Linked DNA regions of Homo sapiens: region 2 is linked to region 1. The links are contacts of gene promoters, found by promoter capture Hi-C in blood cells and fetal thymus (Javierre and others, 2016). All regions are on one chromosome and are shown on one strand. Each heading gives the region's core, a stretch centred on a gene start or on the middle of the fragment in contact. The rest is flanking DNA. Distances are from core to core; before and after follow the strand shown. Region 1 holds the start of PDGFRL (platelet derived growth factor receptor like). Region 2 overlaps MTUS1 (microtubule associated scaffold protein 1).

Region 1 (6,474 bases), core at 2,735-5,234:
CAAGTAGGAGAGATATCACTAAAATCTTTTCCTAGCAAGAAATATTAATATTAATGCCCTGGGAAAGGAATGCGTTCCTGGGGGGAGGTCTATAAATGGTCGCTCTGGGAATGTCTGTCTTGTGCAGTTGAGATAAGCACTGAGATACACCCTGGTCTCCTGCAGTACCCTCAGGCTTACTAGGGTGGGGAAAAAAGTCCGCCCTGGTACATTTGCGGTCAGACCAGTTCTCTGCTCTCGAACCGTTTTCTGTTGTTTAAGATGTTTATCAAGACAATACATGCACCGCTGAACATAGACCCTTTTCAGTGGTTCTGCTTTTGCCCTTTGCCTTGTGATCTTTGTTGGACCCTTATCAGTAGTTCTGCTTTTGACCTTTGTCCTGTTCCCTCAGAAGCACGTGATCTTTGTTCTGCTTTTTGCCCTTTGAAGCGTGTCATCTTTGTACCTACTCTCTGTTTTTACACCCCCTCCCCTTTTGAAACCCTTAATAAAAAACTTGCTGGTTTGAGGCTCAGGTGGGCATCACGGTCCTACCAATGTATGATGTCACTCCTGGCGGCCCAGCTGTAAAATTCCTCTCTTTGTACTCTTTCTCTTTATTTCTCAGCCGGCCGACACTTAAGGAAAATAAAAAGAACCTACGTTGAAATATTGGGGGCGGATTCCCCTGATAGATTTTTGTGAAAAAATCATCTTGGTTGTATGTCTGTAGTTAACGAAGACTAGTTAGAGAAGTTACGTGTCCTTATCTTGGGGATGGAGAAGGGATGCCCAAAATATTGGCTGATTTTTTCTTACCTAACAAATTCCTAATGGTATTCACCACTTCAAAGGGGCAAATAAAAAGCACGGAAGGCAATGGAGTAGGGAGATTTCATGGGTAAGCATAGAAAGCTACCGTTAATTAAAATAGATAATGAAAATGGCCAGGCACGGTGGCTGACACCTGTAATCCCAGCACTTGGGGAGGCTGAGGCAGGAGGATCACTTGAGGTCAGGAGTTTGAGACCAGCCTGGCCAACACAGCGAAAACCCATCTCTACTAAAAATACAAAAATTAGTCAGACATGGTGGCGCACACCTGTAGTCCCAGCTACTCAGGAGGCTGAGGCAGGAGAATTGCTTGAGCCGGAGAGGTGGAGGTTGCAGTGAGCTGTGATCATGCCAGTGTACTCCAGCCTAAGCAACAGAGTGAGACTTATCTCAAAGAAAAGAGAAGAAAGAAAAGTGGGTGTTACAGGTAATGTGATCGTTTATCTAAAAACCCAAGAGATCAACTGAAAACTATTTAAGCTACTAAGAAGGTCCATTAAGGTGACCAGATACAAGCTAAACATACAAAAAAAAAAAATCAGGCCTTGGGAAAGCAGGCTTCAAGTTGTATTTGATTTAGAGCTGCAAGATAATGTTTATTTTAATTGGCTAACATTATAGTAATTGTTGGAGAAGGAATGGAAAAGATCAACACGACATTCTAATAATAAAATTCTTTCTCACCCTAGAGACAAAGCACGTGGATTTTTATAGTGAAATAAGACCTGTGAAAAATACAGCTTTGGCAGTTTTTGTTTTCAAATTTAAAATCATCTTGAGATTGTCTCATTCAAGGATAATAAGCCTTGTGATGAAATAGCTACGTGTCTTGGGAAGCCCTTATACTTCTTATGAATTCTGTTCCCATCTTAATACAGACCCCTGTATTAATTTGCTGGGGCTACCATAGCAAAGAACCACAGAGTGCGTGGTTTAAAGAACAGAAATGTATTCTCTTATAGTTCTGAATGGCAGAAATCTGAGAGCAAGGTGGCAGAAGAATGGGTATTCTCTGAGGCCTCTCTTCTTTGCTTTTATTTATTTATTTATTATTTATTTATTTTGAGACAGTCTCTCTCTGTCGCCCAGGCTGGAGTGCAGTGGTGCCATCTCAGCTCACTGCAACCTCGCTTCCCAGGCTCAAATGACTCTCTCGCCTCAGCCCCCCAAGAAGAGCCTCTAAGCGGCAAGAGAAAGAGGGACGACTCTCGGCTAAATGTAGCTGAGCCAGGGCAGTGAAGCTTGACAATAATGGCACAAGAGAGGTGGACCTGGCACATGCATAGTCAGCATGGAGGGGATACTGCGACCGAGAGGAGGAATCTAGACCCAACCCCAGGCTCCAACATGGAGTGAGAGTTAAGCAGTCAATTCATGGGGTCAGAATGAAAAGAAATCTCACGGTGGGGCAATTTAGGCAGATTTACTCTCTCCTGTGTGCATGCTCCAAGTCCTTTGCTCAGAATTCTCCCCAGAACCTGACACACCACATTGCAGTGGTCTAAATGCTTGTTCACTCCTTAAAAGTAGCCATGAGAGATGATGTCTCAACCTTCATAGCCGTAATGTTAATCACATAGCAAACTCCTGTTGAAATAATCACCTAGTTCCCTTTCTTAATAAACAAGAGATGCTAAAACCCAGAAGGTTAAGTGAATTCTGAGAGGCATGGAGAGTTTGTGCCAGTGTCAGCATCTGAACTCTGGTCTTTATTCCCAGCCAACTGCTCTCTGCATCGCAAGGCAAGCGAGTGGCAAAGCTCCGGCTAGAGCTGGCAACAGAATATAGAATTCTTGGTTCCTCCTGCAGAAGTGACTGAGAAGCATTAGTTTGTTATAAATGGCAGCACTTCTTTCGTTGGGTGTTGAGGGACAAGTCCCTTTCCTGTTATTTAGAATTGAGCTCCCTTTAATAGCAGTGCCTGGTGCTGAAGATTACAATGAGATGGGCTGCTTCTCACCGGGGGAACACACACAGGCATCTCCCCCGCTAGCAAACTGCTTTGATCATGAGAGTCTGCAAGCTCAGAAACGCAGGATGGCTCTCTGCAGAGGGACTTGTGAAAGCCCGTATCTTCTGCCCCACTGTTACCTGATAGAGTTGTCCAGGTTCTTGGCCTGTTGAACAAAAAATTGAACGAAATGCACGGAGTAACGAAAGAAAGAAGCAAGGAAAAACAAAGCAACAGAAGGGAGGAAGGAAAACGTAGATTTATAGAAGACAATTCACAGAGGGCGCTGCAGCAAGCCACAAGAGCCTGACGCTCCCCAGGGATTTTATAAAGCGAAAAGAACTTGGCAACACCCTTGGGTTCCCTTTAGAGGCCTCCAACTGGTTACACCTTACGAAGGACTGGCCTGCGACCAGTCCGAGGCTGAAGTGGAAACTTCTGCCTTGTTATCAGAGGAGCGAGGATGTGGCCTGTGTGCCGCCTAATCATGCCTAGAACTGTCTGCACCTGCTGATCTTTTGCTTCTGCGAACTGGCTGCACCTGCTGTTCTCCTGCTCATACCCTAGCCCGTGCTTACCCTAATTCCCTGTTCTCCTGCCTCACCACCAGAGGCCCGGGTTGTCTGCACAGTCTCATTTTCCACGTTATTCCTGTAATGAACCCGTCCTCCCACCCCCACCAGCAGTTACAGGGCTGGGTGCGGAGACCAACTCTGGCCAGACACAGAGGAGCAGCAAGAACCCGGGGCAACGGTCCTGTGAGTGAGTGCATGTGGGGGAGAGAAATGGAATGAACAGAAATAATTTAGGAAGCACTTTTTACAGAGCACTCAGGTTCTGCCTGAGGAGGTGGGGCGGGCGCTGGTAACATTTGGACAATCGTGGTTAAAAGTGACCCCATCAGCACCCGCTGATCCTTCTTGAACTTGATAACCTTGGTGAAAACGCCAAGCGTTGGAGAAATTCAAGGAATGGCTGTTGTAATGTACATTTCACGCTTAGCCTTTCCTCCCCGCGCTGGGAAGAAGTGCTGCGCACCGCGGCTCCGCCAGGGGGCAGGAGAAGTCACATTACACAGAGAACTAAAAAAAAAAAAAATTCCCCAACTTTTTCCCCCAAACCTTGTTCCTCCTGAAGAAACCGAATCCTCCCGCTTCGGCGTCCCAGGAGCCCGCCCCTCGCCCGCCGCCTCCCCTGCGTCCCCGCCCCGCGCAGCCGCCGCGCTCCTGCGCTCCGAGGTCCGAGGTTCCCGAGATGAAGGTCTGGCTGCTGCTTGGTCTTCTGCTGGTGCACGAAGCGCTGGAGGATGGTGAGTGACTCTGGGCGCGGGGCCACCTAGCTTGTGCCCTGACTTTAGCCGGGACCCGAAGCCCCCGCCGCCCTCCTGCCAGCTCTTGGTCTAACGTTCGGCCCTCGGTGGCTCAGCCCCCGCGCCACTGCCTGCCCGGTGCACCTGCCCCCTCCTGGTGGGGTCTCCTTTCCTCCCACTCTTTGCCTGCCCGGAGAGCCCTCTAGGGGTGGTGGCAGCTACCCCGACCCTTAGGAGCCCACCAGGACCTCTCCAAGTCCCCATCTCCGGGCGAACCAAGCATCCCCAGCCAGCGCCTGGTCCAGCCCCCAGTGTCAACGTGTCGGTCTGGGAGGTGGGGCGGGAGCCTCGGATCGCTTCCACCTCCCAGCGGCGTGGCTGGGACCTCTGCTGCTGAGAGCGAGTGCCACCTAAGCTCGGCAATCGCTGATTCGGTTGCAGAGTTCCAGGTGACCTCCCCCTCCCCTCGCAGTTCTGGGCGTGTTTTCGTCTACCACCTTTTGCTTGAATCCTGCAAGATCTGCCTAGATCTTCGAACAAAAATGTCAGTGTATGAAACTTCAAAACGAATCAAAAGCCCACGGCTTATTATATTTATCTAATTGGATGGGAAATGGTGAAGAAAATGCATTTTTTTGGTACAGCTTATGGGACCATGACCGCTGCGCGTTTTTGAATGTGTACCTGTCCTGGGTCCACCCTGTCGTGTACACCCGTGACCACAGGGTCTGGTGTTATTTTTCTGTGTGTCTGGGTGTGTGTATTACTGTGGTGTGTATTATATATTATTGTTAGCATTTAAATGTTTTGTTTGCTCTATTCACTCCATGGGTGTTATTTGTACAGTACATGTTTCATCTGGGTGCCTCCTGGTGTCCTCAACCCTCTCTTGAAATTCCTGGGCTACAACACAATTTTTGCTTAGATTTAGTGGAAAAGTAGCTTTTGCTGTTATGCAACTTCATGCTGGAGCCAGCTCGACCTGGCTCACATTTTTATCCACTCGTTCATCCTGACCAGTTCCTTTCTTTCCTAGGAAACTACATTTGCCAAAAAAATACCGCATTGTAGTTTGCAAAATCCAAGATAGTCGTGGTACTTGAAGTTGAGCATGAGGGTCCTTCAGCCTAGAGCTTTGCTTAATAAAACGTAGGCAGAGCTTCTACTGGGAGAGTAACACTTAACTCTGCCCAGAGAGAAGTTGCCATGAGTTCAGTTTGTAAAATGCAATATTAAAATGCTCCTGGCAGGCCCTTGTGTGCAACCGCTGAAAAGGCAGAAATGTAATTTGTAGTATCATTTTTTGAATAGGGCAGGAGATGGCCAGGCAAAATAATTTCAAATCAGCCATTCCTTTGTTTATACCCAACTTGCCAGTCTTAGAGGCTCAGAAATTGACTTCCATTCTGCCTCCTGGATCTCACCCAGCCCATGTGAGTTTATTACAAACATCTGACTAAATTTACCCTTTCTTTAAGTGTAATCCATACAAACAATAAGCATTTATGAGACAATTGGAGAAAGTGGAATACAGACTGAATGTAAGAAATAGTTCATAAATTTTAGGTGATAATAGCACGAAGATTTTGTTTATAAAAGTACACACATCTGGCCGGGCACAGTGGCTCATGCCTGTAATCCCAGCACTTTGGGAGGCCAAGGCAGGTGGATCACAAGGTCAGGAGTTCAAGACCAGCCTGGCCAAGATGGTGAAACCCCGTCTCTACTAAAAATATAAAAATTAGCCGGGCGTGGTGGTGGGCACGTGTAATCCCAGCTACTTGGGAGGGTGAGGCAGAGAACTGCTTGAACCTGGGAGGCAGAGGTTGCAGTGAGCCGAGATCGCACCACTGCACTCCAGCTGGGCGACAAAGTGAGACTCCATCTCAAGAAAATAAAGATAAAAATAAAAGCACACATATCTATAATGTATGGACTATTTATGGATACAATAGTGAACACACAGTGCTTCATTAAGTTATGTAACCGTTTGGCTAAACCTATTAAGAATGGTTTTTGGTTTTGAGTTGTGTTGTGAGTTGTGGCCAGGAGCTACTAAGGAGAGTGGATTACACAGGAGGCCCTTCCAGTGCTGGTCTCAGATTGGCAGGTTGGGAATATCCTGCCTTCAAGGCCATCCCAAAGCACAAATTACAGACACAAGGTCCATGACTCAACTTGTTTCACTGCCTTTTAGTTTTTCTGATCACATCTAAAAGACAGTCTTTATTATTATTTTATTATTATTGTTATTATTATTATTATTATTATTATTATTGAGATGGAGTCTTGCTATGTCACCCAGGTGGAGTGCAGTGGCACAATCTTAGCTCACTGCGACTTCCACTTGTGCTAGCCACCACAACTAGCCAAAGACAGCCTTCTAAGAGGAAAAGAC
Region 2 (6,474 bases), core at 1,510-4,009, 120 kb after region 1:
TAGGTGCACAGGGCTATTCACTTGGTCACCAGCAGAATCAAGGCTACAATCCAGGCCTCTTGGGATCCAGGTCAACACCACTGCACTGAGGCAACCAACACCACTTCCTTCACTAAGGATACCAACCCAAGTTACTGCTGACAGTCCATTCAGATAAGAGTCACCATGACGGCATGAATTACCCACTTGACGGACGATTTCTCGGACGTTAAAATGACATAACATGGATAAGCCCATCAAAGACTGATATTGGGAGTAAGCAGAATTATATTCCTTACATGATTTTAAAAAGCCTCCAACACACAAAACGCTTCCTCCATCCCTGCTATTCCTTGGATCTAACAAAATTACAGCAAAATTTGCAGCTGGAAAATATGTACGCCAAAAATTCTAAATAGAAGTCCCAGGTTTTAGTCCTATCTCTGGCACTTACTGTGTGCCTCTGGGCAAGCGAATTCACTTCTCTGGGCCTCAGACTTCCTGGTATAAGACAGATTAGATCACCTCTATGTGAACTCTAGCTCAAAAAATTATGACTGCAAATAAACAGAAAATAGTTTTACGTAAGTTTAGAAAATAAAATGTGTCCAATACATCACTATCAACTAAACCCTGGTAATAGAAGCCTTGTGTCGTTTGCTTACGCTGTCTTGGAAAGCTATCTGCTTCACAACAACACTACAGACAACTTAGAATGTCTACTACTAGAGCACTGGTTAAGTAAATCATGACTTACCCAATAATGGAATGTTACAGAACTATTTTTTTTAATGAGGTAGATAAACATGTGATCACATGCAAATCTAAAACACATTAACTTTAAAAAGGTATAGAATATATAGTACGCTTTTATTTCTGTATAACAAAAAAGAATAAAAAAGACCTGCATAGATTTACATGTGACTGGAAACGTGCAAGAACACTATGCAAGCAGCTGAGAGCGGCTGTCTCCACGGAGAGCAGACAGGGACTCTGGGTAAGAGAGAGGCTTGCCTAGGACTGCACAACCTTCCATACTGTTTGATTTTTAACTTGGAGCGTGGATTACAGTATTTTTAAAAGAACTCTTTAAAATTAAAAGCTATTTGGAGCTACTTTAGATCAGACAAATTATTGCAAATATAGGGCACCCTTTGTTATTTTTCCCCCCTATTAATTTGTTCAGTTGGAAGGGCTGCAGCGGCCCTGAGCTGGGAGAGGAGGGCCACTGCTGACCTCCTCCTCGCTGCCTCCCCCCATTTACCGTCAGCTCAGACTGAAAGGGAGAGGCTGGCAAAATCAAATGACAGGTCAAGGGGAGTTATGAAACACGAGAGAGAGGTGCTGGAAAAAATGAGAATTCTCCCACAGAGAAGGGAGATGCCTCTGGGAAAACTAAAAATAGTCAGCTGAAAACAAATCACCAGGGACAGAGATGAGCCACGTGGAAAATAAGAAACACGAGGGGTCACGTGCACATGAAGCAGAAACAAAAATCTATTTACATCCTCATCAAACATTCCTGTGACACCTAACGCTATTCAGCCCAAAACAAATATAAAAACACCCCAGCTAACATATTTTACAGAATAAAACTGATTTAATTTACTGTAGCTGTAAAATCATCTAGGACAAAAGTAGCAACATAGGCCAACCCAATGCCCTAAAAGTGAGCAGACAGGTCACCACGTGCCTAAAATATATACTAAATTTATTTTCATCTTAGGCACCGAAAATAATAAGCAGATACAAACATAAACCTCAGGGGAAGTATTTTGAGACTGCACACACTTTTATTATGAAGATTGGAAAACTAGATTTGTGATTCACTTACTACTTCCCCATAACCATTAGGATGTTTTCTGTCAGAAGTGTTTAGTATACAGAAATCTTTTAGCATATTAAAATTAACTGTCAAATCTGACTGAGAAACTATCCAATGAAAAACGATGGGAACCTTCTCATCTACACAGGCGAACAGGAAATATTCTTCTAAATTTACCTGTGTCCTATTTCCCAAACACTGGAACTAAAATATAATTTAACAGGTGCTGATTTTCACACATTTGGCTGGTGATGGAGAAAAGAGCTAGGGAACACCAAGGCAACAATTCTGCCTTCCATCAACACAAACAACACAATCTGCTGCCAAAAGTAAAAGTACTATGCACTTGTGCTGAAGCAACAGAAAACAATTTTTAAATTAAGCCTCATCTCTCATTAGAGAGAGCTTTTTTCCTCCAATTATCTGTCTCCTTGGAAAAACCTCTGATAAACATCTGCAAATTAATGAAGACATCCCCCGTGCAACACTAAACAGAGATCTATGCGAGACAGACCTGTGTGGAAAACAACAGTGCTTCTCCTAAACCCTGAAGGAAGTCGAAGGTTTCGAAGCAATCCTTTGGCCGTCAGTCGTATGTGAATGGTGGATAAGGAGAATTTGGGAGACAACAACATGTCTTCGGAGCAGGTGGCGAGATTTCACAGAAGAGGCAATTTCCATGGACTGTCACATACTGTCTTTTTAAACTCAGTACTCTTCAAGGCCAAGAAATACAGTCAGAGGAAAGATGCCTACACAGCAAATGTCATTCCACCAGAGAGGCATAGAAGAAAAAAATCCCCCAGGGCTGGCCAAGTGTTTCTGGCTTCCGTTTTCACTTTCAGATGTTGCCAAAATGATGCTCTTCCTCTGAATACAATCTCCCTCCTGCAGGTCTAGAAGCTGCCTCTGAACCACATCACACTGTGCATGCTTGTGGAGTTGTTATGGTTTTCATCCGAGATGGTAAAGGGGAGGAGAAAGTGGGTGGTCTCAGGAGCTTTACAGAACAACCAATAATGTCACAGATCCTGTAACCACTTGAAAGATCGCTAGGGGAAATTAACTACTTCAAGTGCCTAATGTTTCTTTCATAATTAGAAAAAAATTAGGATTTCCTGAAAGTAAACTGTGTCCTGATTTTAACATTTTTCACTCCTTATATTCACAATGATAACATGAGCATTTTTTCTCTAGATATTTTACATGTAAACTACATTTAAACCTGGTATTTTGGAAAAGTTTTTTTTTTAAAGACTTCAGGCAATAAATGTTCTCAACTACAATATTTAAGAAAATTTCTATTCTAATATATTAATGACAGATTGTCAAAAGGTTAAAGTTCAACTTTAATTCCCACATGCTGAGGACCTCACAAATAATCAACAGTAAAAGATTAATACGGTTTCTCTATCAGATGTAATATCAGAGTTCCAGAAGAATAGTCCATCAGATAGGCATATTCTAAAGACTACATTTATTGCATGAGTAATTGCATTTATAGAACATCATGTGGTCTCTTATAGTGGTCTTTCAAGACTAGGAGTGTGAGGAGGGCACAGTTATGAATATCTTTTGCCAGTTATCTACTAATTTTTATTTCAGTAGAGTGGCTTGTAAAAGTATGTTAAAACATGATAGCAAAACCAAAAGAACTTGAAAAACAAAGATATGGTTATAAGAATTAACAACAACAATATGCCCACTTAAGCTAATTCCATTAAACCACGAATAGCCTGAGCTCTTAACATTTTTAAAAATGTTATAAACAAAACAATGTTTTAAAAATGTCCTATGCCTGTTTCCAAGATTTCCTAGAAAATAAGACTCAGAAATAAATGCAGAATTGTTACCATAAATAACACTATTAAGTGCTATTAAAACTAGCAGGAAGCAGTTCTTTTAGAAATTCTATAGAGTAGGGTATGAAGCAGGGAAGAGAGAGGGAGGAAGAGAAAATTTAAATAAGTTCTCTTCCCTCAAGCCCCCTCCCTCTTCACTCAAGCCCCCAACTTGCCATTTTAGAGGTTGTCAGCAAGAGAGACAGACCCAATAACCTGTCCAGGGTTCCTGTGAGAAAGATACACCTAGTTCATACACTGACGAAAAACCTGCTACATACATTGCACCACAGCAACTGAAGCTAAATGATCAAGGAATTAAAATCAAGGCCAGCTGCTTCTAGGTGTTGCCTTTTACTTCATCCCAGTTTATTATTAAAAAACCTGAACACCTTTTCCTTCCAGATTCTACATACTAAAAATATACCAGAACCTTTTCCTCTACCTCCCAAAACCTTGTAAAAACCAAGAAACCAATCAGCATTAAAAACAAACAGAAGAACAGAGTCAAATTTTGCCATGATTAAAAACAGACATGCCACCACTCCATATAGTAGGAGGTGGTTTTTCTTTCTTTTGGTTGTGTTTGTTGTTTCTTCAGTAACAGCAAATTCTAAATTATCCTTTTTTGTTTGTTTTTGTTTGTTTTTTGAGATGGAGTTTCACTCTTGTTGCCCAGGCTGGAGTGTAATGGCGCAGTCTCTGCTCACTGCAATCTCTGCCTCCCGGGTTCAAGTGATTCTCCTGCCTCAGCCTCCGTAGATGGGATTACAGGTGCCCGCCACCATGCCTGGCTAATTTTTGTATTTTTAGTAGAGATGAGTTTTCACCATGTTGGCCAGGCTCGTCTCGAACTCCTGACCTCAGGTGATCCACACACCTCGGCCTCCCAAGTGCTGGGATTACAGGGGTGAGCCACCACGCCCAGCCTTAAATTATCCTTGTTAAAAGGGAAGTTCTTTAGACTCCCTAAAAGAAGAAATTACCATCTAATCATCGATTAATCAGATTCATTAACATTTTTACTTGAATTACATTAAGCTATAACCACACATATTGAAAATAAACATTGTTAATGATATCTCTTAACAGCAGAGCAAGAAGCTGCAGGAATAAACTAAATTCAGTTCTTTCCCAAACATAGTCTGCCTCCTGGTGGCCGTGCAGCACAAGTGCACCAAAGCAAGGGAGCTGCCTTGGCAGTCCATAAACAAATGGCCATCGCTTACAATCTACTGCTCCAAGCACTCTCTTACACACTTTACGTTTGCTCATTTAAATAACTGGATAAGCAATTACTTTCAGGTCACAACTATTTTTATACTATATATGCCTCTGGGGGGAGCCAAGATAAAAAATTGGTTCCAAAAAATTCTTTGATTATTTGATCATCTGTTACCAGTTAGGAACTCCATATTTTCTGAAATTGAACGAATGTGAGAAGTACCTAAAAAAAGCATCTTTGTTATTTTTAAAAGTCTTAATTTAAGAGGAAAAGATAGGCATCACCAAGGACAGTAGAGGAAAAAATAAGGAAATTTTAGTGCCTAAAGTACAACAGTTTGTAGTTGTAAAAGTTAGCTATGAGTCTTTATGGGCCGGGCGCGGTGGTGAGATTACATGCCTGTAATCTCAGCACTTTGGGAGGCCAAGGCAGGTGGGATCACCTGAGGTCAGAAGTTCAAGACCAGCCTGGCCAACATGGTGAAACCCCGTCTCTACTAAAAACACAAAAAATTAGCTGGGCATGGTGACAGGGGCCTGTAATCCCAGCTACTCAGGAAGCTGAGGCAGGAGAACCGCTTGAATCTGGGAGATGGAGGTTGCAATCAGCAGAGATTGTGCCATTGCACTCCAGCCTGGGCAATAAGAGCAAAACTCCTCAAAAAAAAAAAAAAGATGAGTCTTTATGAAGCAGAGCCTGTGTTAGGATGTCAGTGGAAAACAAAAACATGATTTAAAATTTTATGCAATGTAGGATCTCAACATTAAACAAAAACGATTAAGTATATTGGAGCAAACATGCCAGAATGTCACCAATGCTCTGGGAGGTAGAAGAGGGAGGATTTCTATTTTTTCTTTATTATATGTTTTTGTATTTTCCTAATTTTTTTTTTCAAAAATCATGCAGCCAGAAAAAAATTAAAAAGTTTAAGTGTTAGAATAATTTTATAGAAAGCCTACAAAATGAGCCGAGTTTTCATAATGACACAAAGAAAAATAAACGATGTGTAAAGTCTATACTAAGGCTTAAATAACAAAAGAGGATGATACAGAATGTTTCATAAGTCAGTATGTTGTAATATCACAGTATATTCAAACAAACAGAAATTCCACTGGTCTGCATAGAAATGTGTTTTTTTAAATCAGTGATTTAGAAAACAATGATGTCATGATTCTAGACAAGAATCTAGCATAATCTGTATGGGGTGCTTAGATGCTACAAAATGCCTTCAATTTATCTGTTATTGTTTGTTGTTGTTAATGATCATAAAGAATGAGGAAGAAGATTAAAATTTAAACCAAGTGACTTGTGTGGAGATTCAAGCATCTCTATCCAACCAATCTTCCTTAGCCTAATATGGAATATTAATCTTTATATTTATCTCCTTACTTTCCCTAACACAGCATTAATTGCAACATTTTCTTCATTTTACTCCTCACAGTCTTTAATGTAGTAAGTTCAATTCTCTATTCCAGTTGTAGAAACTTCAACTTAAGGCCCAATTTTTCCACACTATCCTCTTCCTCAGTACGAAGATAAATTGTAATTATCAAAAAATTAACACAAAGCAATTAGAAAAACAATCAACTTCCACCCACCTGTAA

Evidence for each region. The method cuts DNA at HindIII sites, captures the fragments that hold promoters and counts their contacts. A CHiCAGO score of 5 or more calls a contact.
Region 2: a contact is called between a fragment that was not itself captured here and the fragment with the promoter of PDGFRL in region 1, in 2 of 17 cell types (naive CD8 T cells and total CD4 T cells). The highest score is 6.3, in naive CD8 T cells.

The regions. Positions count from the first base shown.
Region 1 is chr8:17,573,232-17,579,705 of GRCh38, forward strand. It overlaps PDGFRL (platelet derived growth factor receptor like), which reads left to right and starts at 3,985. Exons shown (of 6, transcript NM_001372073.1): 1 at 3,985-4,076. The coding sequence starts at 4,022. RefSeq lists silencers at 4,191-4,250, 4,341-4,390. The HindIII fragment of the contact is 7,010 bases long and covers 2,056-6,474 here.
Region 2 is chr8:17,694,939-17,701,412 of GRCh38, forward strand. The region is part of intron 6 of MTUS1 (microtubule associated scaffold protein 1); the gene reads right to left. Among named protein-coding and RNA genes, the nearest start is that of MIR548V, 17 kb to the left of the region's middle. The HindIII fragment of the contact is 8,441 bases long and covers 1-6,474 here.